2 separate regions of the Homo sapiens genome follow, and region 2 is linked to region 1. Evidence: promoter capture Hi-C in human tissues and cell types (Jung and others, 2019). All regions are on one chromosome and are shown on one strand. The core of a region is centred on a gene start or on the middle of the fragment in contact, and the rest is flanking DNA. Distances in the headings are between cores, read along the strand shown.

Region 1 (3,246 bases), core at 611-3,110:
GTCAGCCTCTTTGGAGAAATAGCTGATTCCAGGATTAAGACAGGGAAACTTGCACCTGGGACATCTTTTTGTGTCAAAAAGTAAAGAAATGTCAATGAAAGATGGAAATATGTCACAGGAACACAGGAACCAACTTAATGAGGTGCCCAGTAGCCAAATCTGGGACATTTTTCTTTTTAATTCTTATGAATACATAATTGTTGTACATATTTACAAGGCTACATTTTTTTTTTTGAGACACAGTCTCACTCTGTCACCCAGGCTTGAGTGCAGCAGCACAATCTCGGCTCACTGCAACCTCTGCTTCCAGGGTTCAAGCAATTCTCATGCCTCAGTCTCCCGAGTAGCTGGGATTACAGGCATGCACCACCATGCTCGGCTAATTTTGTATTTTTAGTAGAGATGCGGTTTCACCATGTTGGCCAGGCTGGTCGCGAACTCTTGACCTCAAGTGATCCGTCCCCCTCGGCCTCCCAACGTGCTGGGATTACGGGCCTGAGCCACCACGCCTAGCCTTGCATGTGATTATTTTGATACAAGCTTACAAAATCTGGGACATTTAAAATAAAATAAATAAATAATAAAAGTAATGGATTACAACTCACTGAATAAAATAGAAAGCACCTCCTTACAGTAGAATGCCAACTAACAAATGCAGAAGGAATAGCGGATATAAAGAAACAGGATCTGGCAACGTCATAGAGGTATCGATTCATGTGGAAAACATCAATGAATGCTAAAGCCATGGAGGATTAAGGTTTGCCCAGAAAAAAGGATACTGGTATTATTACTTCCCAACAATTACTAAGGGAAAAATGACGAATTTTAAACGGAGAGACCAGGCAGATAATAACGTAACCAGGTGATCAAGATTAGCATCACCAGTGTTGGGATGGGTTGACATCTGTGTGCCTCCTCATGTGACTTACTGAGAAAGCCATGGCATCATTTCTGTGGTATTCCTGCCAAGAATGCTTAACCTTGGTCTGGTGGTTTGAAAGCACATATGCTGGCAGTCAACCTACAGAATGTAAGGTCTGTATTTTTCAAAACTGTCAACAACATAAAAGACAGGGAAATACTTTAGGATTGTTTCCCAAGAAGTCTGAGGATGCAGGACAACGCCTTATCTGTAGCTAACTAGCAGCGACTCGGGAATGGGAGCTCGGCCTTAACTCTCCACATCCCTCCACTTCTCGCGCAGAGCTTTGCAAATGCTAGGTACGGTGACCACGCCCCCATTCACTTTCCAGGTCTGCCAAATCAATCTAAAAATTTGGTCATTTCACTAGTAGCAATGGATTAGGTCGTGTCAATCGTTCGTCGCAAACTCTAGAGCTCCCAGCACATGAGACATACAGTAAGTTAACTGAACCTGGGGCCGAGATTGCTTTGACAACAGCAGAACGGAGAAGGCGCCCAACTGGCGGAGGGTAGCAATGAAGCCTTCAGAGCGCGGGGCACCTGTGAAGTCAGGGGAGCTCCCCGAAACGCTAAAATAGGCTGAAGAGGACAGAAACCCCAGGACAGAGGGATGTACACACAGAAGTCAAGAAATAAATGCAGGTTGTTAGACTGCACGGGTTCCCGGGAGCAGAACGTGCCAACGGCTAGGGAGAAGGTTTCGGTCGCGAGGGGCCGGAAAGGCCTACGTCCTCCGGGGCCACCGCTCACCTCGCGCCGCAGCAGCCAGTCGCGGTAGTAGCAAAGGCGACCTTTGTCGGAACTGCGTAGGGCCTTCAAGGTCTCCCAGCAGCGACCCTCAGACGGCATGGTTGGCTAAGGGGCAGCTTCTCTGACGCCCCCCTTCTGACCAAACAAGCCCTCGAATCAGCCGCCGGGAAGGCCACACAGGCTTCTGCTTCCGGGACGCGCGCGCAGCACAGCCCCGCCCCTAACGCCTGCACGCCCCACCTCCGGCGACGCTCCCGCGTTCCCGCCCTCCCACCAGTGCGCCTGCGCGCAGGGCTTGGCTGTCGGGGCACGTTCCGCAGAGGTAACCACCGCTCCCAATCCCCGGGGCTGCTGAAAATTTGTCTGTGCCTTGAGACTGTGCAGAAACTGGAACCCTCATACACTGCTCATGGGACTGTAAAATGAAGCACCTGCTGTGGAAGACAGTCTGGCAGTTCCTCAAAAGGTTAAACAATTACCATTTGACCCAGCAATTCTCCTAGGTAAATATATATATATATATAAAATACGCCAAAGAAATGAAACCTATGTATATATAAAAACTTGTCCATGAATGTTCACAGCAGTGTTATTCATAATAGCCAAAAAGTGAAAGCAACCCAAACGTCCATCCATTGGTGAATGGATAAATAAAATATAGTACTATGTGCGCGGTTCCCGAGTTCCCCCGCTTTCTGTGCACTGACCAAGTATCAGAGTGCCTTGACCGCCCTGTGACCCAGCCAGCTGCAAGTTTTTTCCTGCAGACTTGCAACCAAACACGGGCCTTGCATATCCCTAGGCACTAAGGATATCTAGGTTATTGCCCAAAACGCTGAAACTGACCCCTGCTTTTAGCCAAATTCCATAAACCCTCATATAAACTTCATACCCTGACCCCTCGCTGGGGATGTACCTAGGTGAAACACCGCTTCTCTCTGTCTGTCGCGAGAATTGCTGCAGCCCACTCTGTAAGCTTCCCTAATAAATGTTTTGGGTTTAATGCTGCTTTTTTGAGACAGAGTCTTGCTCTGTCCCCCAGGCTGGAGTACAGTGGCTCGATCTCGGCTCACTGCAACCTCCGCCTCCCGGGTTCAAGCGATTCTCCTGCCTCAGCTCCCCGTGTAGCTGGGACTACACGCGCCAGCCACCACGCCCAGCTATTTTGTATTTTTAGCAGAGGCGGGGTTTCACCATGTTGGTCAGGCTGGTCTCGAACTCCTGACCTCAGTTGATCCACCCACCTCGACCTCCCAAAGCGTTGGGATTACAGGCATGAGCCACTGCGCCCGGCCATAGTGCTTCTTTGGAATCCCAACCAGCCCTGTTTGGCAGGAGGAAACACCACATCTATATAATGGAATGTTATGGGGCCATAAAAATAAAGTGCTGATGATACGCTGCAACATCAATCTTGAAAGCATTATGCTGAGAGAAGCCAGTCATGAATGGCCACATGTTGGACAATTCCACTTATGTGAAATATCCAGAAGAGACAAATCTATAGAGCCAGAGAAACTTTATGACTAGTTGCCAGGGGCTGGGGGAGGGGAATGGGGAGTGACTGCTAAT
Region 2 (3,044 bases), core at 1-2,500, 190 kb before region 1:
CTTCAGGATTAATGCTGAGACTTGCTTTCATATGGACCACAATGGACCCCACGAGTGCCCCTGGGGGCACTCCAGTTTCTAAACCTGTAAGTCAGCTGCATCGAAGGAAACACCCGTGATGATGTTGCTTCAGATTAATTAGTAACTTCAGTTCTAACCAAATCAGGTATATTTCGGATCAAATAATCCGAAATAAAACCAACCTATCCTAATTTGACTATTCAGAAATTGTGCAGTTTGTCGAAAATACATGAAACTTTGTTATTTCAGAGATGTCAGAATTTGACCAGCTACACTGCCTATATTGCCTAAGTACTGGCTAGGGAAAAACAAGCTTGGGTGGTGATAAGTCTAACCAAAAAAACCCAAAAAAAAACCAAAAAAAACCTAGTTAAACATTAGTACCATGTGCTTATCAAACATTTCCTTAATTCTTGAACAACAAAATGGCTTACTTTTTTTCCACAATCAGTTCTGGTCAGTTCTACCACACTATATATATATATATACACCCCAAAATAACATGAATTCTTTAAAAGTTATCTTTGTGGGTTTAGCCAAATTTTCTTTTACCTCTCCTTCCTCCCCTTCATCATCATCTTCATCTTCTTCACCTTCATCCTCATCCCCTTCTTCGTCAATATCTTCTAATCCTTCCTCCTCTTCATCATCATCATCATCTTCTTCTCCTTCTCCTTCTTCATCATCCATATCGGGAACCTTAAAAAAAAAAAAGCACAATATAAGGACTCATTTTTAAACAACCGAGACAAGTCCAACCTTGAATAAATGAGTATTAGAACTCACCAAGTAGTACTGTAATGGGTTTGGCCAAATATCATCTTTGATGACCTCTCCTAACTCATCAGCACCTGCATCAGAATGGTCAGTAAACCAGGTAAAGAAGCTCTCTGGTTCCTCATGCTGCCTCTTCCTGCTGGCTTTATTCTGCGTTTGACTCGAACGTTTCGTCAAATCCTAAATGAATACCGGAAGAGCTTTTGATACAATCTCTCCATAACACCCAAACTCCCTATAATTTAAAAAATAAGATTTTCCCCAAAAGCTAAGCAAAACAAATATCAGTATACTATCTACGCTACCATTATTACCTAAGAGCAATTATAAAACTGTGCAGCAGGTAGAGGTAGTATCAACTACATTTGGTTTTCCATAAAATTAGTTCCACTGTTAACAGCCACTAGCACAACACAGTATAAATATCTAAACTATGTCTTACTACCTAAATACGGATGTAAATGATTTTGAGAAATGGCAAGCCATTTGAAGAGCTCAGTCACCACTGCAGAAAACAACAGCAACAAAAAATTTAGTCCAGTTCTCAATTCTTAAACTTGGGCTAGATTTTTCTCTTTTTTTTTGTTTTTTGGAAGGTAAGGGTCTATGTTGCCCAGGGTAAACTCCTAGGCTCAAGAGATCTTCCTGCCTACATCTGTAGTATCTAATGAGAACCCTAAACTACTGTAATACTTGGCTTCAGCACACTGGAACGTTTTATATTTTAAGGTTTTGTATTTAGCCACATGACCAAAGTATCAAGCACTTGTAAGTGGTTAAAACTAAACTGAAATAGGCAAAATGCTATTTTTGTCAAATAATTCCTCAAAACATACCTTTCCAGATTTCCATTTGATTTCGGTGGACTTCGAAGATGGATCACCACTCTCATTCAGATGAAATTCTTTGGAGAGAACTTTATTTTCAAAGTAAGGATTTTCATCAAAATACTGTAATAAATAATTGAAAGATTAGAAATATGAACAGGTCTTCCAACCAAAGCTCACATTAATTTCCACAGTGGCAAACAAGATTAAGTTAGAGATACTTACAAAATCTATTCTGTAACCTGATTTAATATCTTCAAATTCTGTCACTTCAACTCTGGTCAAATAATGCAGTGCCTCTTCATCTTCCTCCCCAAGCAGTGCAGACACTAGGCCAGAAAATTACAGGTCAGCTGAATTTTCAACAGGCACACACTAACAACAATTTAAGTGATCCCTTTAAAATTTTTCCGAACTTAGTGAGCATCTTTGGTTTTATAAACCCATTATTAACTAAAGGCAATTGCTCAATATCAGACTGTCACTATCTTTCATCAAGCAATTAGAATATAGCTTCTCCTAAACAGAATAGAAAGCAGTAGCTGTATATCTTTTCCCGTCTTTGAGGTTTTTTTTTTTTTTTTTTTTTTTTTGAAACAGTCTCACTCTTGTCGCCCAGGCTGGAATGCAAAAGCGCACAATCTCGGCTCACTGCAACCTCCCCCTCCTGGGTTCAAGCGATTCTCCTGCCTCAGCCTCCCAAGTAGCGAGTAGCTGGGATTACAAGCGCGCGCCACCACGCCCAGCTAATTTTTTTTGTATTTTTAGTAGAGACGGGGTTTCAACCTGTTGGCCAAGCTGGTTTCGAACCCCTGACCTCAAGTGATCCACCCACCTCGGCCTCCCAAAGTGCTGGGATTACAGGTGCGCCACCGCACCCAGCCTGTCTTTGTTGCACGCAACCCAGCATGCTGGACTAAGTCTTCACCAAGCTTCCTCCATTCTAACAAACACTGTTTATCCTTTAACAATGCCCTGTCCAAAACATACCTTGTGGATGGTTGACAAATGTTGTTACCCAAAAATTTGGGATTTTGGCGATCAATTCTGACCTCTTCTGAAAAAATGGTTGGCGGAGTTTGTTATATTTCTGTTCTACTTTCAAAATCTCCTCACTGGCTTGTTCATTAAGTCTGAAGCAAATGAAAAGAGATGTTGACAATGATAGTATTTAACAAATTAAAAAATTGGTTGAGATTACAGAGTGTATTTACTTACTAGCTTGAGTCATGCAAAATAACCAAATTATAATAACCATTATCACCTAATTTAGACACTCAAAACTAAGATGGCAATTTTGTCTGATTTATCAATAAACACTGAGTAATAATGACTGTTAAGAGTGCCCAAACTCAACACTCTGGTAACGTGTGTATTTACTTCGCCCACTCCATTTCCAGTCCAATTTCAATTGTTTCC

What was found. Contacts are between HindIII fragments. The study calls those that stand out against the background at their distance.
Region 2: a contact is called between a fragment that was not itself captured here and the fragment with the promoter of GLE1 in region 1, in 2 of the 25 tissues and cell types used here (dorsolateral prefrontal cortex and heart right ventricle).

Annotation. Positions count from the first base shown.
Region 1 is chr9:128,503,333-128,506,578 of GRCh38, reverse strand. GLE1 (GLE1 RNA export mediator) reads right to left here and starts at 1,860. Exons shown (of 16, transcript NM_001003722.2): 1 at 1,675-1,860. The coding sequence starts at 1,773. RefSeq lists an enhancer at 1,460-1,619 and a silencer at 1,840-2,049. The HindIII fragment of the contact is 8,169 bases long and covers 1-3,246 here.
Region 2 is chr9:128,691,572-128,694,615 of GRCh38, reverse strand. SET (SET nuclear proto-oncogene) reads right to left here. Exons shown (of 8, transcript NM_003011.4): 3 at 2,616-2,758; 4 at 1,851-1,954; 5 at 1,635-1,748; 6 at 808-978; 7 at 574-720. Among named protein-coding and RNA genes, the nearest start is that of SET, 3.9 kb to the right of the region's middle. The HindIII fragment of the contact is 6,023 bases long and covers 1-3,044 here.